7 separate regions of the Homo sapiens genome follow, and regions 2, 3, 4, 5, 6 and 7 are each linked to region 1. Evidence: promoter capture Hi-C in 16 types of primary human blood cells and fetal thymus (Javierre and others, 2016). All regions are on one chromosome and are shown on one strand. Each heading gives the region's core, a stretch centred on a gene start or on the middle of the fragment in contact. The rest is flanking DNA. Distances are from core to core; before and after follow the strand shown.

The links. Contacts are between HindIII fragments. The CHiCAGO score rates a contact against its expected background, and 5 or more counts as called.
Region 2: the fragment with the promoter of RUSF1 here is called in contact with the fragment with the promoter of STX4 in region 1 in 1 of 17 cell types (monocytes); the score reaches 5.2 in monocytes.
Region 3: a fragment that was not itself captured here is called in contact with the fragment with the promoter of STX4 in region 1 in 14 of 17 cell types (naive CD4 T cells, naive CD8 T cells, total CD8 T cells and 11 more); the score reaches 9.8 in naive CD4 T cells.
Region 4: a fragment that was not itself captured here is called in contact with the fragment with the promoter of STX4 in region 1 in 2 of 17 cell types (total CD8 T cells and naive CD8 T cells); the score reaches 5.5 in total CD8 T cells.
Region 5: a fragment that was not itself captured here is called in contact with the fragment with the promoter of STX4 in region 1 in 1 of 17 cell types (monocytes); the score reaches 6.3 in monocytes.
Region 6: a contact is called between the fragment with the promoter of ITGAX here and the fragment with the promoter of STX4 in region 1, in 2 of 17 cell types (neutrophils and monocytes). The highest score is 9.4, in neutrophils.
Region 7: a contact is called between a fragment that was not itself captured here and the fragment with the promoter of STX4 in region 1, in 1 of 17 cell types (monocytes). The highest score is 5.4, in monocytes.

Annotation. Positions count from the first base shown.
Region 1 is chr16:31,031,690-31,035,290 of GRCh38, reverse strand. It overlaps STX4 (syntaxin 4), which reads right to left and starts at 1,733. Exons shown (of 11, transcript NM_004604.5): 1 at 1,456-1,733; 2 at 1,177-1,278; 3 at 966-1,065; 4 at 755-829; 5 at 251-321. The coding sequence starts at 1,485. RefSeq lists enhancers at 875-1,385, 1,898-2,409. The HindIII fragment of the contact is 4,602 bases long and covers 1-3,162 here.
Region 2 is chr16:31,506,762-31,510,362 of GRCh38, reverse strand. RUSF1 (RUS family member 1) reads left to right here and starts at 1,972. Exons shown (of 13, transcript NM_022744.4): 1 at 1,972-2,289; 2 at 2,485-2,599. The coding sequence starts at 1,990. It overlaps RUSF1-DT (RUSF1 divergent transcript), which reads right to left and starts at 1,899. Exons shown (of 2, transcript NR_186401.1): 1 at 1,327-1,899; 2 at 797-1,190. RefSeq lists enhancers at 1,422-1,991, 1,556-2,270, 2,271-2,986 and silencers at 2,092-2,141, 2,202-2,261. The HindIII fragment of the contact is 29,640 bases long and covers 1-3,601 here.
Region 3 is chr16:31,446,268-31,449,868 of GRCh38, reverse strand. No RefSeq gene overlaps it. Among named protein-coding and RNA genes, the nearest start is that of ZNF843, 5.3 kb to the right of the region's middle. The HindIII fragment of the contact is 6,267 bases long and covers 1-3,601 here.
Region 4 is chr16:31,401,150-31,404,750 of GRCh38, reverse strand. ITGAD (integrin subunit alpha D) reads right to left here. Exons shown (of 30, transcript NM_005353.3): 6 at 2,506-2,636; 7 at 1,106-1,251. Among named protein-coding and RNA genes, the nearest start is that of ITGAD, 9.6 kb to the right of the region's middle. The HindIII fragment of the contact is 7,259 bases long and covers 1-3,601 here.
Region 5 is chr16:31,382,813-31,386,413 of GRCh38, reverse strand. It overlaps ITGAX (integrin subunit alpha X), which reads right to left. Exons shown (of 30, transcript NM_000887.5): 30 at 3,415-3,601. Among named protein-coding and RNA genes, the nearest start is that of ITGAD, 8.7 kb to the left of the region's middle. RefSeq lists an enhancer at 3,306-3,601. The HindIII fragment of the contact is 1,492 bases long and covers 1,254-2,745 here.
Region 6 is chr16:31,353,911-31,357,511 of GRCh38, reverse strand. ITGAX (integrin subunit alpha X) reads right to left here and starts at 2,336. Exons shown (of 30, transcript NM_000887.5): 1 at 2,221-2,336; 2 at 1,514-1,619; 3 at 784-887; 4 at 411-481; 5 at 148-259. The coding sequence starts at 2,257. RefSeq lists enhancers at 2,565-2,754, 2,945-3,074. The HindIII fragment of the contact is 18,983 bases long and covers 1-3,601 here.
Region 7 is chr16:31,333,318-31,336,918 of GRCh38, reverse strand. No RefSeq gene overlaps it. Among named protein-coding and RNA genes, the nearest start is that of ITGAX, 20 kb to the left of the region's middle. The HindIII fragment of the contact is 1,483 bases long and covers 1,176-2,658 here.

The DNA of each region.
Region 1 (3,601 bases), core at 484-2,983:
CTGGGGTCACAGTAACTTCCTATTGAATGGAAGAAAATAAAGCAGGGTGTTATAACCGGACTGAGCATCAGGAGACCTGGCTTCCTGACCTTGAGCAAGTTCTTTCTCTCTCTGAGCTCAGTTTCCCCATTTGGAAAAGTCATCCAATTGGACTCCATGATCTCTGCAGGCCCTTCCTTCATACACCTGTCATCTAATACTTCATGAAACATTTGCTGAAATGTCCTCATTTCTGAGAAAAAAAACCCACCTGGGTTTTTCTCATTCTTGTGTTGACGGAGTTATAGTTCTCATCAGCTTCCTCCTTCTGGGGCTCTATGGCTGTGGGAAGACACAGGGGTATTGGGGGTACTTGTCTCCATAGGATTTTTAGGGAAATATAATTTATCATAAAATGACTAAGGCTGAGCCTCTAAGAGGAGAAAGTAAGTTTATTTTTCTTTGCATTACATCACTGAGTTCCCATAGGTATGCAGAGGCCACCTAACAAAACTCCATCTCCCTGCCCAAAGAATGCCCAGTGGGCAGCGATAACTGTGTAAGTAAATGGTTTCATTGTAAATAAAAGAACCTGAGAGGCGGACTTGTGCTGTGGAGAGTACAATGGCCTGGAGGCCAGGAGACAGATGCTAGACCCAGGCCTGCTGTGTGACCTGGATATATCACTGGCTTCTCTGGGCCACACACTCCCCAGATATACCAACAACAGGGCAGGATCAGAGGGAAGGATCTGTCTGAGGTCCCAGGAGCTCACCCTTCAGCTGCAGGCGGATCTCCCTCCCCAGCTGTTTGATCTCATCGCGCAGGTTCTGCAGCTCCTGCTTCATGCCTGAATAAGAGAAGGCCAAGACTCCCAAACAGCAGCCCCCACCTCAACAAACCACTCTGGCCACCACCTGCGTGGAACTACAACCCCCACAATCCCTGGGGCGGAGCATGCGCCCTGCAGCCGGGGTTTCACTCACTCTCCTCGGGAAGGGGCGTGGCCAGGATGGTGACCTGCTGTTTCTCCAACTCCTGGACTTTATTCCCCAGTTTGACAATAGTCTGCCGAATTGTCCGGACCTGGGGAGGGTGACCGAGAGGGCTGAAAGAGATATGGGGTACTCCAGACCACGCTACTCCTCGGGTCCTCCTACACCCTCGCGAATCCAGGCGGAGACCCCAGCCCCTTACCTTGTGGAAGAACTCCTCGTCCGGGCTCCCCAGCCGTGCCGTGCCCGGGTGCACCACCAGCGCGACCCGCTCCTTGTCCTCTTCGTCCGAGCTGTCATCCCCCTGCCAGGCCCGGAGTCATTGGCACCACCGTTTCGCTGCGGCTCTTACCCCGCAGGACCCACAGGCTTCCGGGACTTTCCTTCCTGGCCATCAGCCACCCCTCCCTATCCCGAAGACCAGAAGTCCTGCGTTCCAGTTCGTCCGCCCGTCCCCATCCCCGCTGCCCTGGCGTCTCACCTGTCTCAGCTCGTGGGTCCTGTCCCGCATGGCGGCCTGAGCTCTCCCTCCCCGGCGCCAGAGCCGGGAGGCCCTCAAATTTGGAATTCCCGTACCCCGCTCACACTCTGACACTCCCCTCCCTCCCCCTGCGGACCCCAACACCCCCACGAGCCGCCAGAGGCTCCGTCCCTTGCACCGCCCACAGTCAATGGGAAGGCGCCGACCCCGGGGACCCCCCAAGGTTCCACAGGTTGGAATTCCCTTTTCTTCCCCGCTCCAGCTCCCGCAGCCTCAGCCCCGCCCCTCCGTGATAAATTCGGGGCATGCGCACATGGTCGCGTCTCTTCCTTGCCCGAGGCTGGGAAGGTGGAGTCGGAAGTTGTTGCGCCCCGAGCGGAAGCGGAGATGCCTGGACGCGAGAACTTGCTACCGTCACCGGAACCGTTGCATCTTCCAACGGAAATCTGGTTGCCAAAAGGGGTAGGAATACGTCATTTGTACGTAATCCGAGACACCCGCATCTCACATCACCCCATGGTGCCCCCACCGCGTCACGTGACCAGCCCGGTCCCAAACTCGTGGACCGCAGAATGTGACCCTGTGACTGTCACGTGTCCCGGCTCTGTCACCGCCGTCTCTGGGACGCCGTTCTCATCACGACGTCCCCGGCACCCCAACGACCGAGCGACGCCCACACGGCCCCCGCGAGGTGGGGAGGGGCGCGCCGACCACCCCCAGAGGCCTTTCGAGGCAGTGGGTGGTAGGACCCTTGCTGACCTCGCCTTTATTGCTTTCGGGTCCAGGGCGTGGGCGGACTGACGACTTAGCATTTGGGGCTGTCAGCATCATGGGACCTTGAAAATCGGGAAATAATAGGATCCGAGTCGTCAGCGTCAGAAAATTGCAGGGTTGTGTGGGCAGGGAATCTGGGGGTGGGAAGTGACCTCAGCCAAGGCAGAAATCTCTTCTTCCGCATCCTTCTGGCGCAGCCTCTGACAGGTGGGCGGCCAGCCGGCGCCCTCCTTGAACACTGCAGCCCGGCTGCACTCACCACCTTGTGAGCCGTCAGACCATGTCAGGGCAGCTCAGGCTAAGAAAAGTGTTTGTATTGATCACGCTGCCTCCCTGCCACTCACACCCCCCAGCCCCTGCCTTGCATCTGAGGCCAGGTAATGACTTTGTTCTTAACTGAATCTGGGGAGTTCCTAGCCCAGTACCAAGAACATTACGGGCCCTCTATAAATACTTGTGGACAGAATTTCAGGCTTTCATGTATCTGAGGATAAAGCCCCTGGTTCCTTGGTCTTCTTTAGGCTTCAGGCTTTCTGACTGTGACACTTCTCTAATCCTGGCTATCTAGATATTCACTCATTTTTTATTTTTAAAAATTTTTACGAGATGCGGTCTCACTATGTTGTCCAAGCTGGTCTCTAACTCCTGGGCTTAAGCAATCCTTCTGCCTCAGCTTCCCAAAGTGCTGGGATTACAGGCATGCACCACCATGCACAGCAACATTCAGTCATTTAATGGATATTTTTTGGGCACATAGTATGGGCCAAACACTGTTCTAGGGCTGGAGATACATCAAGGACTAATAGACAAAAATTCCTGCACTCGTGGAACTTATATTCTCTAGAAGGAGTCCCCAAGGTCACTCAGCAAGTCTCAGCATAGCCGGGAATGAATAACAGGTCTCCTGGACCCCAGGGCTCTGTCCAGGAAGCTTCTGTGAAGGTACAAGCAAGGAAAGGAATGGACCCTTTCTGCTATGCCCTGGTCAGGAAACCTAGATTCCTGGGACTGAGTTGCTATGGACTTCTGGAAATCGCTTCCTGTCTCTAAGTGTGGATCTCCCTCTGCACAGTGGGTAACTGTAGGGGGATGGGGAGATCATCTTTATGGGTATCGGCTGCTCTAAACTTCAGTGATGATGAGGTTGGAAACTGTCAAGTGCTGTGTGATTCTATGTGAGGAGTTTTGGCTCTTCTCCTCTTCCTGTTAAAACCCAGCTCAGGCAGGGTGTGGTGGCTCATGCCTGTAATCCCAGCACTTTGGGAGGCTGAGGCAGGCAGATCACCTGAGGCCAGGAGTTGGAGACCAGCCTGGCCAACATGGCGAAACCCTGTCTCTACAAACATACAAAAATTAGCCAGGCATGATGGCA
Region 2 (3,601 bases), core at 723-3,222, 470 kb before region 1:
GTTCAAGACCAGCCTGGCCAACATGGCAAAACCCCGTCTCTACTAAAAATACAAAAATTAGCTGGGTGTGGTGGTGAATGCTTGTAACCCCAGCTACTCCGGAGGGTGAGGCAGGTGAATCACTTGAACCCAGGAGGTGGAGGTTGCAGTAAGCCAAGACTGTGCCACTGCACTCCAGCCTGGGTGACAGAGGGAGACTCCATCTCAAAAAAAAAAGTTTCCCTTGATTCCACTGATTAGCTCAATTCTCCTTCTAAAAGTCCTCATATTAAATAACATGTACCCCTCTACAGCAATTGAAATAGTTCCAACTTTGCATTTATTTGTATGATTTGATCAATATCCTTCCCTAATATAAGTTCCAAAAGACCAAGACCCTTGTTTGTTTTTGCTCACTATCCCAATGAGCACATAGGTAGCAACAGGTATTTGTAGAAGAAACTGGCAAACCATTGGTAAAAAAGAGATAACAAACACGGAGTTAATGACAACTGCACGGTTCAAGCGATTTTCTTGCCTCCGCCTCCCGGATAGCTGGGATTATGGCCACACCACCCCCACGCCCAGCTAATTTTTGTATTTTTAGTAGAGATGGGGTTTCAACATGTTGGCCAGGCTGGTCTTAAACTCCTGACCTCAAGTGATCCACCTGGCTCGACTTCCCAAAGTGCTGGAATTACAGGCGTGAGCCACCACGCCCAGCCCAAGGATCACTTTTGAGGCCAGGAGTTTGAGAGCAGCCTGGGCAACATAGGGAGGCCCTGCCTCTATTTAAATAAATATGTTTTTAAAGTACTTAGTCTTCAAACCTTGTTTTATTTTTGTCCTCTATTCAAACCAGTACCTGAATTTAGACAACATTACAGAAATGTTGTGATTAGGCCATTTGTATTTTGAAACCCGAAATTTAAAGAAAAAAAAAAAGAAAAGAAAAGAAGTGTTCAAGTTTATCTCAGTCAGAGAGAGACTGTGTTTGTGTGAGATAAGGCGAAGTGGGGTAGAAGGGCCTTCCAGGATTAAGTCCACGAGGAAGGTGACGGTTTGGGAGAATCTGAAGTTTCAAATAAGGAGTTGTCGGTTGGGATCAAACTGTGGGGATCCAAGAATGCCAGGCTAAGAAACCAGGATATTTTATTTTCTGATAAAAAGAGGATGCTTTTTTGGCAAATTTCTGCTTCGGAGTGAAGATGCTGCACTAGATGGGAAGGAGAAGAGGAGAAATGGAAAGAAGAAAAGGTGAGTTCCAAGGACAGAAACACTCCCTCTTTGGACTCCCCCCAATTTCATGGACTCTCTCCCGCAAAAAAACACACAAGAACTTCCTGCCTTGTTTCCTTGTTTTGTGACATCATTGCAATCTCTTGATTTTTTTCATCCCTCGGATTCCTTAGCATCCTTCAAAAGTAATGTTCCTGCAGTCTCGCAGAAGGCCGAAGGATGGAGAATTTCTAGTCCAGGCCAGGGACACTCAGAAGAGAGAAAAAAAAAAGAACAAAAAAAGACCCAAGCAGCTTCACAGGGCCTCATCTGGTCCAATTTCTTCTCATGATGCATTCATTCACTCATAAATATCTTTTGAGCACCTACTATGTGTTGGGTAGATCTAGGGATAAAATCAGGGTTAAAAATACAGTCGCTGGTCTCACAGCAAAAAAGGCACCTGAGGCCCAGAGAGGGCCACTGACTTGCCAAAAGTCACAAGCTAAAACTTCTGTGGCCGAACCGCGTCTCGAACACAACTGGCGGAGGCCCACGGCGCCTGCAGCCCAGCTGCAGAATGCTACAAAGCAACGGGGGCCGGTGCCGGGGCGTCCGAAGCAGCGCCGAGGCCGGAGAGAGCGACAGTCAGTTTCCTAACTGCGCGGCGGACGCCGAGGCCGGCGCCTGTTCTTGAAAGATGTCCCTCTGCAGCCGCGGTAGCCCAGCCGGAAGTGCCGCCTGCCACGTCCACCGTGCGGCAGGGGCGGGGCTGGGATCCAAAAGCTCGGCATGGCTGACGACGCGGGTTTGGAGACCCCGCTGTGTTCCGAGCAGTTCGGCTCCGGGGAGGCACGGGGCTGCCGCGCCGCCGCGGACGGGAGCCTGCAGTGGGAGGTCGGGGGCTGGCGCTGGTGGGGGCTCTCCAGGGCCTTCACGGTCAAACCTGAAGGACGAGATGCGGGCGAAGTGGGGGCTTCCGGGGCCCCCTCACCGCCCCTCTCCGGGCTCCAGGCCGTGTTCCTGCCTCAGGGCTTCCCTGATAGCGTCAGCCCGGACTACTTGCCCTACCAGCTGTGGGATTCCGTGCAGGTCAGCTCGGTCGTCTGGGGCAGAGGACAGTGCAGGCCACTCCTCCCTCCCCAATAATGGACGGGTGACTGAGACTCGGAGCCCGGGGGGCGGGGGGTCTGACATGCCTCATACACCAAGAACAAGAACAGATGAAGGCACTTAGACCGCCACGCTCCTACGCCCGCTTCTCACCCTACTTGTTTTCTTCTCCAGGCGTTTGCTTCCAGCCTCTCCGGCTCCCTAGCCACCCAGGCAGTCTTGCTGGGCATAGGGGTGGGGAACGCAAAAGCCACTGTTTCAGCTGCCACGGCCACCTGGCTCGTGAAAGGTGAGCTGCACCCCTGGAGCCTCACGTATTGCTGCTTTCAGCCCTGCTTTCGCTGGGCTCTTATGTGTATATATGTATGGACTCGTGCCCCATTAGGTAGAATTCAGGCAGGTCTCCCCAGTGATTAGAGTGGTGCTTTGTAACCCAGTCTTACTTCCCACATCTGGAAGACCCTCATCCCACTCACCAGCCTAGCAGCCGCACTCCATTCCCCACACAGACTTCTGAGTCTCAATCATCTGGATCCCAAATCCCGTCCCCTCCCCTTTATCCCTATTCTCTTTGTGGAAGATTGCATAAGAATGCAATTGATGGAATAAAACTGCCAGCTGCCCAGGATAGGGGAAATTGGTGAGCTCCAGAAAAAAAAGATATAGTTGGTCCTGAGAAGGAGAGAGGAGAGCCTGGAAAGAATGGAAGGTATTGTGTATGCTCTGGGATACCAGATGATGCTGTAAATAATAGAGTGACTATCTGCTGAATATGTACAGCTTTTAAAAAATTGTTTAAGGAAAAAAAATACAGTTTGGTACCATGCCACCCAGAGAGGGAAATAGAACAGAAAAGGGAAATTGTTACATGTTCTACACGAGGAGGCCCCATGGCTTTTGCCACTGTCCTTTGTCTTTCACTACTGCTCGCAGGGGATATTTATTAGGCTGGTGCAAAAGTAATTGCGGGGTTTCTTTGTCGTTATTGCCATTAAAGGTAATGGAAAACCCGCAATTACATTTGAGCCAACCTAATAGATCTAAGGAAAAGCGCTTTCCATTCGTAGCATCAGTCTGGCCACATCCCTTGTGAGCCTCTCTGGATTTTTTTGAGAAAACAGGAGCTTCCTGTTTACACCTTTACCATTAAGACTGAGAAAACTGGGCCGGGCACGGTGGCTCACGCCTTTAATCCTCGTACTTTGGGAGGCTGAGGCATCCTGGGCAACATAGGGAGACCCCCATCTCTATTTTTTTTTTTCCAGACTCGTAGTCTCACTGTCACCCAGGC
Region 3 (3,601 bases), core at 288-2,787, 410 kb before region 1:
ACATCTGCCACCACACCTGGCTAATTTTTTGGAATTTTTAGTAGAGACGGTGTTTCACCTTGTTGGCCAGGCTGGTCTTGAACTCCTGACCTCAGGTGATCTGCTTGCCTTGACCTCCCAAAGTTCAGGGATTACAGGCGTGAGGCACCATGCCCAGCCAGTCCCTGTCTTCAAATACAGTCACACTGGGGGTTAAACAATGTATAAATTTGGGGGCGATACAAACATTCAGTCCATAACACCCCCTATACCCCAACCCTAGGCAACCACTAATCTACATCTTATCTCTACAGATGACCTATTCTGGACATGTCATATAAATGGAATCATACAATGTGTGGTCATTCGTGTCTGGCTTCTTTCATATAGCATAATGTTATCAAGGTTCATCCACACTGTAGTATCTCATTTCTTTTTATTAGGAATAATACAGTTTCACTTTATGGATTGCTGTGGTTTGAACCTGTCCCCTAAAGTTCATGTGTTGGAAACTTAACCTCCAATTCAACTGTTGAGAGGTGGGAACTTTAAGAAGTGATTAGGTTATGTGAGCTCTTCCCTCATGAATGGATTAATGGCATTATTGCATGAGTAGGTTAGTTATCAAGGGAGTGGACAGCTGATAGATAAATGGATGGGTTCTGCCCCCACCCACCCCCTCTCTTGCACTGTCTTGCCCTTCCGCTTTCTGCTGTGGGATGAGGCAGAAAGAAGGCCCTCACCAGATGCAGGGCCCTTGACCTTCGACTTCCCAACCTCTAGAACTGAAAGAAAGATATTTCTATTCTTTATAAATTATCCAGCCTTAGGCATTCTACGATGCAGCACAAAACAGACTAAGACATGGATATGCCACTTTCTTCAATCATCAGTTGACAGACATTTGGGTTGTTTCCACTCGGGCTATTATGAATAATGCTGCTATGAATACTCACGTACAAGGTTTTTGTGGAATATGCTTTTATTTCTTTTGGTTACATATCTAGAAGGGAAATTGCTGGATCATATAACTCTATGTTTAAACATCTGAGGAACTGCCAGACCATTTTCCAAAGTTAATGAATGATTTTACGTTCCAACCAGCCATGTGTGAGGGTTCCAATCTCTCCACATTCTCACAAAAACTTGTTAATTAACTGTCTTTTCAGCTTTTTTTTTTTTGAGTCGGAATCTCACTCTGTCACCAGGCTGGAGTGCAGTGGCGTGATCTCAGCTCACTGCAACCTACGCCTCCCAGGTTCAAGTGATTCTCCTGCCTCAGCCTCCCAAGTGACTGGGATTATAGGCGCCTGTCACCACGCCCAGCAAATGTTTGTATTTTTAGTAGAGACAGGGTTTCACCAAGTTGGCCAGGCTGGTCTCAAACTCCTGAGCTCAGGTGATCCGCCCACCTCGGCCTCCCAAAGTGCTGGGATTACAAGTGTGAGCCACTGCCTGTAAATATTATCATTTAAAAAATATCATTTTTAAAAATATTATTTAAAAAAAAAATTTTAATGTTTTTTAAATATTATTTTTAAAAATAATAATAATGTTATTATTATTTGAGATAGAGTCTCCATCTGTTTCCCAGGCTGGAGTGCAGTGGCGTGATCTCAGCTCACTTCAGCCTTCACCTGCCAGGTTCAAGTGATTCTCCTGCCTCAGCCTCCTGAGTAGCTGGGACTACAGGCACCCGCCACCATGCCTGGCTAATTTTTTGTGTGTTTTTAGTACAGACTAGGTTTCACCATGTTCACCAGGCTGGTCTCGAACTCCTGAGCCCAGGTGATTCGCCCACCTCAGCCTCTCAAAGTGATGGGATTACAGGCATGAGCCGCCACTACTGGCGTAATTACCTGTCTTTTTTATTATCACCATCCTAATATGTATGATGTGGCACCTCGTTGTAGTTTTGATTTGCATTTTTCTGAGGACTAATGATGTTGAGGATCTTTTCATGTAATTATTGGCCATTTATATAACTTCTTTGAACTGTCTATTCAAGTCATTTGCCCATTTAATTTTTTTTCTTTTTCTTTCTTTTTCTTGAGACAAGGACTCCTCTGTTGCCCAGGAGTGCAGTGGCACAATTTCGGCTTACTGCAGCCTCCACCTCCATGGTTCAAGTGATTCTCAGCCTTCCGAGTAGCTGGGACTAGAGGTGCAGGCCACCACACTCGACTGATTTCTTTCTTTCTTTCCTTTTTTTGTTTTTTGAGACTGAGTCTTGCTCTCTCGCCTAGGCTGGAGTGCAGTGGCGTGATCTCTTCTCACTGTGACCTCTGCCTCCCGGGTTCAAGTGATTCTCCTGTCTCAGCCTCCCGAGTAGCTGGGATTACAGGCACATGCCACCATGCCTGGCTAATTTTTGTACTTTTAGTAGAGACAGGGTTTCACCATGTTGTCCAGACTGTTCTCAAACTCCTGACCTCAGGTGATCCGCCCACCTCAGCCTCCCAAAGTGCTGGGATTACAGGCGTGAGCCACCGTGCCCAGCCTAATTCCATTTTTAAATTGGATTATTTGTCTTTTTTATCATTGAGTTGCAATAGTTCTTTATACAGTCTAGGTACAAATCCCTTCCCAGATATATGATTAGCAAAGATTTTTACCTGCTCTGTGGGTTATCTTCTCCTTTTCTTTTTTATCTTCTCTTTTTCTTAATAATGTCCTGTGAATCTCCCTGACGTCTGGGTATTTGGAAAGAAAAAGAAAAAAATTAAAGAATAATGTCATATGAAGCGCAAGAGGTTTCAATTTTGATGGTGTTCAGTTTCTGTATTTTTTTCTTTTGTTGCTTGTGCTTTTGGTGTCATATCTAAGAAAGCATTGCTTAATTCAAAGTTATAAAGATTCTAAGAGTCCTAACTTTTAGTTCTATGATTCAATTTGAGTTAACTTTTATATGTATTGTGATATAGGGATCCAAATTCATTCTTTTGCATGCAGATATTCAATATCTACCTTGTATATATACATATATTTTTTTAATTTTTAATTTTTTTTTTTTTGAGACAGAGTCTCCCTCTGTCACTGAGGCTGGAGTGCAGAGACACAATCGCAACCCACTGCAACCTCTGCCTCCCAGGTTCAAGGGATTCTTGTGCCTCAGCCTCTCGAGTAGCTGGGATTAGAGGTGTGTGTCACTATGCCCAGCTAATTTTTGTATTTTTAGTAGAGACAGTGTTCTGCCATGTTGGCTGGGCTGGTCTCGAACTCCTTGCCTCAGGTAATCCGCCCACCTTGGCTTCCCAAAGTGCTGGGATTATAGGAGGGAACTACCTCGCCCTGCCTATTGTATAATTTTTTATTGAGAGTGCTATGGTTTGAACATCCCCTCCAACTCATGTTGAAATTTAATTGCCATTGTAACAATATTAAGAGATGAGGCCTTTACGAGGTGATTAAGTCATGAAAGTTCTGTCCTCATGAGTGGATTAATGCCATTATCATGGGAATGAGTTAGTTATCACAGGGGTAGGCTCCTGATACAAGGATAAATTCAGTGCTATTTCTCTCTGTGTCTCACGTCTCACAAGATTGCATGCCTGATATGGTTTGGCTCTGTGTCCCCACCCAAATCTTGTCTCAAATTGTAATCCCCACATGTTGGGGGAAT
Region 4 (3,601 bases), core at 687-3,186, 370 kb before region 1:
CTGAGTCCAGCCCTGAGATGGGCTTGGCTCTGGGGAGCAAAGGCTGCTGGGAAATTTCCTGCAGTCTGGGCATGAGAGCAGGACTGGAGTTGGTGAGAACCACTCGGTCACCCCTGCCTCATTCATTTTTTTCCCCAGGCCCCACCACTGGAAGAACTTTGAGGGGTGAGGTGGAGACTCCAGAATGGGACACTCCCGTGTGACTTTAAACTTACAGGACAGACGGAGGCCTTCCTCTGGGTTGCTGAGTCACAAGGGGCCACCGTTCAAGGCAGAAGAGCCTCCCAGAAGTAAAGAGGGTGCGTTTGGTGGGAGCATCTCTTGTTTAAGCCAAATTCTAGCACCACCCCAGGGCTGCTCCCAGGGGTGTGTGCAGGAAGCCAAGGATCCCCGACCGTCAGCCCAGCTCCTTCCTACAAGAACCACATGCCTTTCTCGGGGGTCCCACCTCCTACATCGTTTTAGGAATAGACTGCATGTGCACGGGGCAGGCCCACGGTGAGTGCCTGGGTAGCACAGGGGGTGCGCAGGGGTGAGGGATGCGGGAGAGGAGGTGAGTGGGGAGAAAGGCACCAGGACGACCTTGGGTGACAATTCCTGAGTCCCTGACTACTCCATTCTCTGATAAAACCTCAGGCATTTATCCGACACCTCCTACGTGCCCCGGGCTGAGCACCCCACACACATGATCTCAATCCTAAGCTGTGAGCTTATCTTCATCTGAGAGTTACTGAGACTTAGAGCCCATCACCCCAGGGTTACACCCAGAGTAGCTCACGGGGAGCCAGGATGGGAGCCTGATGTGTCTGAGCCAAAGCCCGGGCCTCTGGCTGCTGTGGGGTGGGGAGGGGTCCTGGGGTCCAGGCTCTGCAGAACCAGGCAAAGGGGAGGCATAGCTGCAGAGGAGCCTAGTCCTATATCAGGGAGACTGGCAGCGAGGCAACCAGGAGCACCCCGGGGGGAGGTTCTCCCTGCAGCCCCGACATGCCCCTTGGTAGCCCCTTTCCCTGGAGCCTCCCTCAGCCTCTGAGAAGAGCTGTGCTGACCCAGGGTTAGGAAGTGGGGGTGGCAGTCACATCGCCAGGCTGGGGTCGGGGTTGCTTACACCACTGTCAGGATGCCCGTGGCCGTGAACGTCAGGCCTTTCAGTTGGACGATGGGATCCACCAGGCTCTGCTGGCTCGGGCTGGTCCGGAATTGGGTGAAGGTGAAGTGGATCTTCAGGAGGTTTGAGTACTGCATCAGTGCAAACTGCAAAGGCCAGTGGGGAGGGCCCAGGGCTCAGTGCCTGTTACTATTGTTTTTATTTTAATTTTTTGTAGAGACAGGGTCTCTCAAACTCCTGGCCTCAAGTGATCCTCCTGCCTCAGCCTCCAAGTAGCTGGAACTACAGGCACACGTCACATGCCTGGCTTTGTTTTTTGTTTTGTTTTGTTTTTGGTAGAGACAAGGTCTCACTATGTTGCCCAGGCTGGTCTCGAACTCTTGGCCTCAAGCAATACTCCCACCTCAGCCTCCCAAAGTGCTGGGATTACAGGTGTGAGCCACCACACCAAGCCATATTGTTTTCAGTTTTAATAAACTTTATTTTGGAATTATTTTGGATTTACAAACCATTTCCCATGTGTTTTGAAGCCCTACAAATAATATACTGAAACCCAGAGAAGAAAATTCATTGGCCCAAAAATACAAAATATAAACTGGAAAATCTAAACCAAATGATATTTCCTTCACAGTTTATTAAAAATAACTTTGCCAACCACAATATTTGCTACCCTTAGCTTTTTAAAAATTTTATCACACATTAAATCAATTTGTGTATTTCCTCCCTTCTCAAGAATTTGTGGCTGGGCGTAGTGACTCATGCCTGTAATCCCAGCACTTTGAGAGGCCAAGGTGGGAGGGTTGTTTGAGCCAGGAGTTGGAGACCAGGTTGGGCAATATAACAAGACCCCATCTCTACAATAAAAATTTTTAAAAATTAGCCAGGCATGGTGGCATGCACCTGTAGTCCCATCTACTCAGGAGGCTGAGGAAAGAGGATCACTTGAGCCTGGGAGATCAAGTCTGCAGTGAGCTATGATTGCACCCCCACACTGCAGCCTGGATGACAGAACAAGACCCTGTTTAAAAAACAAAACAGTGGGGTTTTTTTGCACATACATAGGCACTAGTTATGGGAAAATAAAATAATAAAAAGAAATCATTAGTTACATAGAAAATATGTCAGTCAAATTCCATAGCAAAATTATTTTTTAAACACTTTCAATGTTTTTAAACAGCAGAAACATTGTATTTCCTGTAGCTTTTGGATACATTATTAAATGCCAAGAGGGCCTCCTAGGTCAGGGCTCAAGTTGGGCCTGTGCTGGGACCATAGCTTCATTCTCCACCCCAGCCCCATCACACACGGCTCACTGGCCTGCCCCCACCCCTCCCGGGATGCCTCCCCGAGGCCAGCCTCCCCCGTCCCCCAAACCCCAGCCCCAGGTGCCCAGTCTTCACCAGGGTGTCAGTGCCCTCAAACTGGCCCATGACAGCTTGGACAAAGCCCTTCATCTGGTTAAAGTCATTTTGGTCAATGCTTCCAGAGCCGTCAATCAGGAAGACGATGTCCATCTCTTGATGTGGACACTCTGTGGGGGAATGGGGAGGAATCGGAGATGCACTGCGGGGGCCCAACCCCCTCCTGCAGCTCCTGCTCAACAGAGCCCGGGGGCTGTTCTTGGCATCCCCACCTAGTTTCCGACCCCTCCTTGGAGGAGGCCCCAGTCTGCCACCCCAGCCCCCTGCTCCCTTCCTCCCACATGGCCTGGAAAGAGAGGGATGACAACACAGGACCCAGGTGGGCTCCTCATCCATTTAATCAACAAATATTCATTAAACACAGATGCTAGGGGTGCCACAAGCATCAAGGGCGAATGTTTAGCAAAGTGGTTCAGGGCGCGTGTTCTGGAGCCAGTGTGCCTGGGCTAAACCCCAGCTCAGCCACGTGCTAATTGGTGAATTCAGGCACATTACTTAACTTCTCTGGACTTCAGTGTCCCTATCTGTAAAATGAAGGTAATATCAGTGGCTACCACGTGGGATCACTGCAAGGATAAAGCAACACGCACATGGGTGCTGGAGACAAGTCCTGGCCCTCTGCCAGGGTCAGCCGCTGGCACCATTCTCACCACGTGCCAGGCACCTTCGAGGCCTGTAGGATATGCCTGTAGGGATGCTGTGGGGGTGGGGCAGGGATCCACCCCAGACCCCACCCTACCCCCAGTCGGTCAGAGGTCCTTATTTCCAGCTACGTGGAGTTGGCTCTGAGCTGAGTCCCTTCCCAGGAATCACGCTAGGCAGAGGGGAACTGTTGCCCACTGGGACACCTCCTGCCCCTGGAGGAAACCTTTACCGATGACTGGTTCAGCGTCTGAAGGGCCAGCTGCACTCTGAGCCCCCCAGGCATTGGCTGAGGCCTCTGGTTTTTTCATTTTTTGTTTTTTTGAGGCAGAGTCTCACTGTCACCCAGGCTGGAGTGTGGTGGTGTGATCACAGGTCAGTGCAGCCTCGACCTCCCCAGGCTCAGGCAATTCTCCCACCTCAGTCTCCTGAG
Region 5 (3,601 bases), core at 750-3,249, 350 kb before region 1:
CCACACAAGCGTTAGTCACTGCTATTCTGCTGTATACCTCTGACATACACAATGTCCAAGCTGTTCCTTCACAAAGGAATCTTGCTCACAGCATAGTCTTCAAGCATAGTATTTGCCAGACACTGTAGGTAGCCTATCCAACAGCCACCAGCGCTGCCACCTTCCTGGCTGGTGGAGCTACCCTCCTTTTTTTTTCTCTTTTTTTTTTTTTTTTTGTTGAGACAGAGTTCTACTCTGTCCCCCAGGCTGGAGTGCAGTGGCATGACCTCAGCTCACTGTAACTTCCACCTCTCAGGTTCAAGCGATTCTCCTGCCTCAGCCTCCCAAGTAGCTGGGATTACAGGCACCTGCCACCATGCCCAGCTAATTTTTGTATTTTCGGTAGAGACAGAGTTTTGCCATGTTGGTCAGGCTGGTCTCAATCTCCTGACCTCAGGTGACCTACCCACCTCTGCCTCCCAAAGTGCTGAGATTATAGGCATGAGTCACTGCACCTGGCTGGAGCTACCTCTTTTTATTAAGCCTGTGAAAAGCACATGCTCACCTTCTCAGCACTGCATGCAACCAAGGGGATGGAATTTGACCCAATCCTAGTCAGTGGGAAAGAACTAAACCGCCCCCGCAAGGACGATCAATTGGAAGATCAGAAAGAATCTGTCAATGCTGAGACTCTGCATTAAACACTAACCTGCACCTGAACCTCTTGCAGAGTAAAGGTCTTCTGTCTGCTCTTACATGCTTTTGTTTTTTTCTATTATTTGCAGCCAAAAGCAACCTTTCAATACAGGTATGAACTCTACTGCCATTTCTACAAGCTTCTTGGAAATTATGTGACTTGTACCTACTTTTGCTACTTTAAAAAGCACCTTTGATTTATGTCACTGTGGTTTTGCTGTCTCCTCTGTATTCGGTGACAACACTAATCACTTTTGAATAGGAAAGCTACATGTAGCAGTTGTTCTAAGAAATCTCTATTGCTTTACCTGAGGCAGGCAGATCATGAGGTCAGGGGTTCGAGACCAGCCTGACCAACATGGTGAAACCCCCGTCTATACTAAAAATACAAAAATTAGCTGGGCGTGGTGGTGCGCGCCTGTAATCCCAGCTACTCAAGAGGCTGAGGCAGGAGAATCACTTGAACCCAGGAGGCAAAGGTTGCAGTGAGCCAAGATGATGCCACTGCACTCCAGCCTGGGCGACAGAGCAAGACTCCATCTCAATAAATAAATAAATAAGAAAATAACACAAAAGCTTTCAGAGGTTCATGCGACTGTTTGATAAAGTTTCAGAATGGGCAGCACACTAGGGACAAATACATGTCAGAACCAATACAACCTACCTGTCAGGGAGTATAATACCTTCTAGATATTTTCGGGTTTTGGCTCACAATCACTTATTCCGGTATGCATGTCTATACTATACGTGCACTGGGCTCAATATTTAAAAGTCAATATTGACTTTGATGACATTATTGTAAATTGTAGCAATTAGATTAGTTTTTAATCACAACTTCCATGCTTTTGAGCCATTGATCCATTTTGTGATTCGGGGATCTAATGCAACACAATAGCCAACCCTGAAAATGCAAATGTAATAAATGTACACAATAACACACAAAGGAAGAATATCAGAAAATAACACCTTGTCGGCCAAGTACAGTGGCTCATACCTCTAATCCCAGCACTTTCGGAGGCCGAGGAGGGCGGATCATGAGGTCAGGAGTTCGAGACCAGCCTAGTCAACATGGTGAAACCCCATCTATACTAAAAATACAAAAATTAGCTGGAAATGGTGGTGCCTGCCTGTAATCCCAGCTACTCCAGAGGCTGAGGCAGGAGAATCGCTTGAACTTGAACCTGGGAGGCGGAGGTTGCAGTGAGCCAAGATCATGCCACTGCACTCCAGCCTGGGTGACAGAGCGAGACTCTGTCTCAAAAATAAATAAATAAAAATGGGCATGGTGGTACGCCCCTGTACTCCCAGCTACTTGGGAGGCTGAGGCAGAGGCATCACTTGAACCCAGGAGACAGAGGTTGCGTTGAGCCGAGATCGTGCCACTACACTCCAGCCCGGGAGACAAAGTGAGACTATCTCAAAAAATAATAATAATAAAATAAAATAGAAAATAACAACTTGTTGCCTGAATTTAGACAAGAACCCACTGTAGTCCCTGGAGTCCGTGTGCCACACAATTATTAAGGCCACAACACTATTTCTGTGCAAATCACTAGTTTCAAATGTTTGAGATGTATGGGTTTCTTGCTCTTTTTCTCTAAAACCTTCCACTTAGAAGACCATCATTGACCACCAGTGGTTCGTGGAACACATTTTGAGAAACACCACTCTAGGGTCAATTTTTTTTTTTTTTTCTGAGACATGATCTTTCTCTGTTGCCCAGGCTGGAGTGTGGTGGTCCAAATCACAGCTCACTGTATCCTCAACCTCCCAGGCTCAAGTGATCCTCCTGCTTCAGCCTACCAAGTAGCTGGGACTACAAGCACATGCCACCATGCCTGGGTAATTTTTAAATTTTTTTGTAGACACAAGGTTTCAATATATTACCCAGGGTGGTCTCAAATTTCTGAGCACAAACAATCCTCCTGCCTCGGCCTCCCAAAGTGCTGGGATTACAGGCATGAGCCACTGTGCCCAGCCATTAGGGCTGAATTCTTACAAAGCCTTATCTTCTGATTCCCTTTCTGAGGAAACTGCATAATAATTAGTCATCCTGGGGACTCAAAAGCTTCAAAATCCACAGGGATTTTGGAGCCTCTGCTGATGTATAGGACAGACATTTTTGGCTGGAGGTAAAGGGCCACTTTCCATCTTCCCTTCAAATCACTCAACTGCCTCCCTTCTGTTTTTCTAATTGAAACATCCACACGGCCCGGGTCCCTTGCTGGTGATAGCTGCAGTGGCGTCACTCCGAGGTCAGGAATGGCTTGTCCTGTGAGGCCCCCAGCTCAGTGCCAAGCACCATGATGAACTTTATGCCAGGATGGTGGCATAATAGCAAGAATGACCTTATTGTGGGCAGCAGCTCTCAATGTGGGACCCCAACATGTTCTTCAATCACTCACTATATGCAGACAGTGTGCCCTTCAACACATCCTAGGACTTGTAGGAAACGCTTGTGAGTATTGGTCACTCCAGAGACCTTTCCAGGTGGAAAAGTAGCCACTGGAGGTTGTCCCTTCTCTATTCTATGCCCCCTCCACCCGACAGCTCCACCAGCTTACCATCGGCACCAGCCCTGAGAGTGGAGTGAGCAGATTAAGAGGTCAGGTTACTTCCAAGAGAGGGATATTCACAACCCTACTCTGGTTAACTTCTTGTCCTGGCCCCAGGCCTCAGTGCTGGCCAGGGTCCACCGTGGTAAAGGGACCCCATGGGTGTCATCCTTCAGGACTCATATCCACAGAAGGCTTTTTTATTTTTAGACCTTTGACATATTTCCCAAGAGCGGTAGATGCATCTTTTTGTGCATGTTTTAATTTATTAACACAAACATTTAAAGTACGCTTTTTAAAAAAATAATCATGTCTTGGCATTTTTTCAGGTACTATATTCATAGCCTCAAAAAATAGAAGTGGTTGGGTCT
Region 6 (3,601 bases), core at 1,087-3,586, 320 kb before region 1:
GCAGCGTCAGGAACCACTGCAACACGTGGTAACTCTTTTTCCAGATCCCTTCTTTCTGATCCACTCTGGCAAGACTGTCTCTAGCCCACCGCACCCCCAATTGGATGTGCGTGAGCTCCTCAAAGCCTTGGTGGTCCCGACACTCACCCTGCCTGGACACCGGGAGCCTCTGGGTGAGCTGGGTGGGGCCCAGGAGGAAGCAGAGTCCGGTGAGGTACATGTTCCTCCCGCACTCGTGGTGCACGGTGGGGCCGCAGGCCTGGGGACACAGCGGGCTGCTGGGGGGCTGCCCCTGCTTCCTCCCACCCTCACATTCCGGAACCTCCACCCTACAGGAGACTCCCAGCCCCCCGCGGCCCCGGCTCCTCCCTCCCTCCCTCAGAAGCCTCCTGTGACCCAGGGCCACTCACCAGCAGCTGGGAAGGGCTGGTGGTAGACGCCAGGGACAGGCCCAGGGACATGTTCACGGCCTCCGGGGGCACTGTGGGGACAGATATGTGCATGGTCACTCTCGGGGGTACAGAGAAGGCTGTGGAAGAGCTGGGCAGGGGTCACCTCCACCTGGGAGACAAGGAGGTCTGACGGTGAAGGAAGCTGTCGGGTCTTGACAGAGCTGCGGGAGTGCGATGGGCGGGGAGGCCTTAAGGGGCCAGGAAGCATATCTGAGGGTGAGGGTCTCAGACACAGTGGAAGCTGAAAGTGACACTCCGGTGAGTCCACGGGCCCCTGGAGCAGGGAAGCCTGGGAGCCCGGCCCTGGGTCCCGGGAGGGGCGGTGACTCACCCTGCAGGCCGATGGGCTCACAGGCACCAGTGCTGTAGCCACACTGGTAGAGGCCACCCGTTTGGTTGGCAGCTGTTATCTTTTGGGGGGCTCCAACCACCACCCTGCGAGGAGACAAAGAACACTTTAGGTAAGAGTGTGGACGCTGCAGCACAGCTGCCACTCCGGCAAGTTTGCGTTCCCTCCCTGAGCCTCAGCTTCCTCATCTGCAAGATGGATTTTAATAATTTAAAGTCCATGTGGAAGGGATTTCTGTCTGTTGGATTCTCTGGCGTATGGAGACAAGAAATATTTGTTGAGTCTGGGTGTGGTGGCTCACACCTGGAATCCCAGCACTTTGGGAGGCTGAGGCGGGAGGATTGCTTGAGCCCAGGAGTTTGAGACCAACCCAGGCAACATAGTGAGACCCTGTCTCTATATATTTTTAAATGTATAGAAAAAAAGAAAGAAAAAACAAATAAGTGTTTGTTGCACGACTGATTCCTACTCACAGGCTGTCGTGTGGACTAAATCAGCATCCACCTGTGATGAGCCTGGCACTGCACTTACTGCTCTGTAAATGTTAGCTGTGAGACCGTGCCTGCCTTCAAGGCAAATCTTCATTAGCCAGGGCAGTCGCTACACCAGACAGAGAGGAGAGTTTGCAAATAACAGGGCAGGGCCGGGGGCATGGGGCCCTGAGCAGGGAGAGGATGGATGGAGCCAAAGGCCAGCACCACCTGGGCCTCACCAGGAGTTGGCATACTGGACCACGCTGTCTCCAAACCCAGCGCTGTCCACACGGAAGGCTGTCAGCTCCTCTGTGTCCAAGTTGAAACCTAGAGAAGTTGCTAAGGCTGGGAAAGAGGTGGGAAGAGAGCTTTGGAGAAGGGTCTTCCTTCTGCCTGGCTGCCCTCCACCCCCGGCCCCAGCGTCCCAATCTCCCCTCCGAGCCTGATGCCCGGGGTGCCTGGGTCTTCTGGACACCCAACTCATCCCCTTCTCTCCTTCCCAGGGTCCAGGGATGCCCCTTGCCCACCATCCACTATCGAGTTGCAGTTCTCCATTTCTGCAGAGCAGTACCCAGGCTCTAAAAAGGATCTTTCCCCAACGTGCACCTCGGGCGCTATGAGAGTGAGTCCAGGAAAACTTGCGGACCAAAGCATCCTGTCCACAGAGCACAAGTTGGCGCATTCTGCCTATTTTAAAAATCTCTGCAGTACAGAGACAACTGGCCTCTCTTCCAGCATCTCTGGAACTCTCCCAAAATTGGTTCATCAATATCCTCTCCCTCCACAAACTCCAAATCTCAGACCCTATGTGCCTGCCTCCCCCTCAGGCTTGACTGAGTCTCTCTTCCTACCCAGATCCTAACCCCCCAGCCTGAGCCCCCAGTTCAGGGCCCTGGCTCCCTTGGGCCTGGGTCCCCAGCCCTACTTCATTGGGGTCCAGGCTCACCTGTGAACAGGAGGAGTGCTGCCCTGGTCCTGGTCATGACTAGAAGGTCAGATGTGGAGCTCTGAGCTCCTGGGCCGTTGCAGGAAGAGCTGGACCAAGGTACTGAGGAAGCAAGTGGGCAGAGAGGTGGCCAGGGGAAGGAAGAAGATTGTCAGCATGAGTCAGAGGGGGCGGGCAGAGTACGCAACTGATCCGAGGACAGGCTCGGCCTCCCACACGCCCCCACCCCCCAACCGGAGTCACTCTCATCAGATGACTTGGCTTGATGCCCTTTGCTTAGATGGATGCAAATCCCTGCCCTGCCCCTCCCAGGCTCACCCTTGACTGCCAGAAGGCACCCCTTGACCTTGAAATTTCAGCCAGACTGGAGGGGGTTTGGGCAGATGCCAACCCCTCAGGACCCTAAAGGAAACCCTGGTGGGAGCCCTCCACTCTGACCTGGAAAGTCTGGGCCAAGGAGTGGGGCATCCGGGTCCCTAGGAGGAGCACAGAGCGAGTATTTGTTCATTCATTCATTCACTCATTTATTCATCATTTATTCAAGAAGCCTAATTTGAGCCTGGAGATGCAAGCCCTCTGCTAGGTGGGGAAGAAAATATAAACCACAAAGCACCAGCCCTGGGGTCAGTGGAGAGGCAGATGTATAAACAGCAAGTTCATTGCTGTGAGGGGGAAGCACAGAGACCACAGGGTGCCTCACCCGGGTTGTGAAGGTGTGGCTTTCTGAGAAGGCTTCCTGAAAGAGGTGGTGCTTGAGCTGAGCATTGAAAGCAACCAAAGTTGGGAGATGACAGAGCAGCCAGACATGGATGAGGCAGGGGACAGGAGGGTCTGTGTGTGAAATCAGCAATGGGAACCAGACAGTCAGGGTGGGAAGTTGTAAGAGACAAGGTCAGGGCCACTGGGAGGAAAGCAAGGGGAAGCAGGCCTCAGGCCGTGGAAGCCCCCCTAATGTACATCAATTTTTTTTTTTAATTTCAGAAACAGGGTCTTGCTCTGCCACCCAGGCTGGAGTGCAGTGGGTGCATAGTTCACTGCTGCTTCGAACTCCTGGGCCCAAGGGATCCTCCTGCCTCAGCCTCCTGAGTAGCCAGGACTATAGGATTGCACCACTGCACCTGAATATATATATATATTTATATATATATATTTTTTAATTTTAGTAGAGACAGAGTTTCCCCATGTTGGCCAGGCTGGTCTCAAACTCCTGATCTCAATCAATCCTCCTGCCTCAGCCTCCTAAATTGCTGGGATCACAGGTGTGAGCCACCACACCTGGTGAAGACACATTGATTTTGTCCTGAGAGTGGAGGACAGCATTGAAGGGAATTCATGGGGACTGAGATCTTCACATTTTCATTTTAGAAAGTGGGTTATATGG
Region 7 (3,601 bases), core at 668-3,167, 300 kb before region 1:
CCACAATTGGGAGAACAGAATCTTTGGGAAGGTGGTGATATCAATTAACAAAACAGATAAACTGCTGTATCGGAGGCTCTGAGTGATAGTGTTTTCAACAAGACCAGTGTTCTCATCTCTCTCCTGTAATGGCATGAGAATATGGAGTCCAGGGCTGACATGGTGCCTCCGCAGAGGCGGGACCCAGCCTCCTCTGTTCCACTCTTGCATTCTTCGATGTCAAACTCATCTTCAGGGTCCAAAATTGTGCACCGTGATGCTGACACTCCAGCCAGCGGGAAGGTGGTGAAAAGAAACGACACTTCTTCCCTCAAAGGACCTGGCTCCGAAGTTGCTCGCTTCACTGCTGCTCACATCCCATCAGCCAGAACCTCGCCAGGCAGCCACACCAGCTGCACAGGAGGTGGGGAGACGAACCCTATAACTAAGGGGCTATACGCAATATCCATTGCAGCGTAACAAACCACCACGCAGGACTGAGACATCAGTAATTGATTATTTCTCACAGTTGCATGAGGTGACAATCCAGGCAGTTCTGTGGGACTCTCCAGTGGCTGCAGGTGTTGGACAGCTGGATGGAAGGATCACAGCAGCCTCATGCATGCACAGTGGCAGTGGCCTCCGCTGTCTCCTCCATGAGTCCACTCTTTCTCCAGTGGGCCATATGGATCACGGCGTGGTGACCTCAGTGTTCCGAGGGGTGCAGGGCAGGATCTGCTGTGCTCCTAAAGGTCTAGGCTCCAGAACTCACACGACCACACTCCTACTGTATTCTATTAATCAAAGCAAACCACGGGACCAGCCCAGATTCAAAGAGGTAGACAGGCCGCACCATGTGATGTCAGGGACAGCAATGTCACACTGCAAGGGTGTAGGGCCGGGAAGCACCATTCACTGGGAGTCAGAATTGTAACCATCTCCCATGGTGGCCCAAATTAAGATTCTACTCTAAGTAGGAAAAGGAGAGTGGATACTGAAGGGATTCATTTATTCTGAAGTGAGAAATCCCCAAAAATAAAAGCAAGCAGACGTTCCTGGACTTGGCCACTTATCACCAGATTTATGGTCCTGTTTATTAGTCACTTTGTGGTCATGCTAGGGAAATCTGTCGCTTGAAATGATTGACTTTTCTAACCCATCATAAAGCTCCTATCTGGCTGAATTCAACACAAGCTTCTCATTTGAAGACGCGGAGGTGAACTCTGAGTTCACAGGACTTTAACTGCCCTGCAAAGACTGGCGGCTACAGGCACGGAGGCTGCAAGGACAGGCAACTACAGGTATGGAGGCTGCCAGGACAAGCAACTAGGTACGAAGGCTACAAGGACCAGCATGGAGGCTGCAAGGACAGGCGACTACAGACATGGAGGGTGAAAGGACAGGCGACTAAAGGTACAGAACTCTCTCTGTTCCCGGAGCAATTCAGGACTTCTGCAGATATTGAGGACTTTTATCTTTCAACATAAGGAAACACAGAAATTCTTAACAGACTTTATTTAAGTCAGGAGAGGAAATAGCAAAGAACCGTCTAAAGGTGACCGTGTTTTGTGTCACCCCCACAGATACAAAGGGCCATTGTCTCATTAGCCACCTTTTGAGGGCATCTCACTTCACTTTGAGTGAAATTGGAACTACTCACTCTGGCTTACAAAGCACTCATGCCCAAGCCCTGCCCACTCTCCCAGCCTCCCCTGCCCTCCCTTCTGCCTGGAGATCTTCTGGCCCTGCTTCAGTCAGGTGTCACCTCCCTTGGGGACCCTTCCTTCACCTCCCTAAGGAGTAAGCCCTCTCTCCTCCTGCCACATGTGAAACAAGTGTCCCTCTAAGCCATGATTTTCTTGTATTTCAATGAAGATCATGAAATTACCATTTTTTGGCTGGGCACAGTGACTCACACCTGTAATCCCAGCATTTCGGGAGGCCAAGGCAGATGGATCACCTGAGGTCAGGAGTTCAAGACCAGCCTGGCCAACATGGTGGAACCCCATCTCTACCAAAAATACAAAAAAAAAAAATTAGCCAGACATTGTGGTGCACGCCTGTAATCCCAGCTACTCAGGAGGCTGAGGCAAGATAATCACTTGAACCCGGGAGGGAGAGGTTGTAGTGAGCTGAGATCACACTACTGTACTCCAGTCTGGGCGACAGAACAAGACTCCATGAAAAAAAAGAAAGAAAGAAAGAAAGAAAGAAAGAAAGAAAGAAAGAAAGAAAGAAAGAAAGAAAGAAAGAAAGAAAGAAAGAAAGAAGGAAGGAAGGAAGGAAGGAAGGAAGGAAGGAAGGAAGGAAGGAAGGAAAGAAAGAAAGAAAAAAGAAAGGAAGGAAGGAAGGAAGGAAGGAGGAAGGAAGGAAGGAAGGAAGGAGGAAGGAAGGAAGGAAGGAAGGAAGGAAGGAAAGGAAGGAAGGAAGGAAGGGAAAGAAAGAAAGAAGGAGAAAGAAAGAAAGAAGGAGAAAGAAAGAGAGAGAGAAAGAAAAGAGAGAAAGAGAAAGAAAGAAAGAAAAGAAAGAAACATTTTTGTCCAAAAACATGTCATCAATTTCATATGCTTTAACCCAATATCATAACAGTTAAATAACAGCCACCCTCTCCCCACACTCCCTCATGCCTGTTCTGGGGCCATTCCTCTGAGGCTGTCAGGACAGTAAAAGAGAAAAGCTTTAGACCTAGGCAGAGCTGGGATTAACTCCTAGCTCCATTCCTTCCCAGCTGTATGACCTCAGGCAACTGGTATGATCTATCTAAGCCTAGGTTTCCTCATAAGTGAAATTCATGTAAATACCAAGGACTGGTGTGAGGATTAGAGAGGATGTATGTTCAGGCCAGGCTAGTGTTTACTGTGTTTGCAAAGTATGAGGGACAGGCACTGGGCATCCTCCCTCTGAGGAAGCAGCCACCAAAATGTCACCTGCACACACCTTGGCAGCAAGTGCTCCTGGTGCCCTGACCTGAACCAAAGGCACCGTGTCAGGGGCTGTGTTCACCTGTCAAACATCCAGCCAGCAGCACTGGTATCACTTTCTCTGGCCACTAGAGCCCACTCTCCTCACACTCAGGGCAGGCCAGAAGTGGTAGGAAATTAACACACTCTCCCCACCAAGAGCAGCCCTCATCCAATAGCTAAGTGGAATCGGTGTCTATGCGCTCCAGCCTTCTCCCCTGGGTGGGGTGATACTGAGGTGCGTGTTCTGCACTGCCTCCGAGAACTGCCCAGTGGGGTGAAGCTCCAGGAACTCACAGCAGCTTCTCTGTGGGTGATACACCTGTTATTGGCAGCCTTCCCTTCCTCGGTATTTCCTGGAGCCATCTCTTTATTTTATTTTATTTTATTTATTTTTTTTTTTTTAAGATGGAGTCCTGCTCTGTCGCCCAGGCTGGAGTGCAGTGATGCAATCATATCTCACTGCAACCTCTACCTCCCAGGTTAAAGCAATTCTCCTTCCTCAGCCTCCCAAGTAGCTGAGATTACAGTTGCCTGCCACCATGCATGGCTAATTTTTTTGTATTTTTAGTAGAGACGGGGTTTCACCAAGTTCGACAGGCTGGTCTCAAACTCCTGAGATCAGGTGATCCACCAGCCTCGGCCTCCCAAAGTTCTGGGAT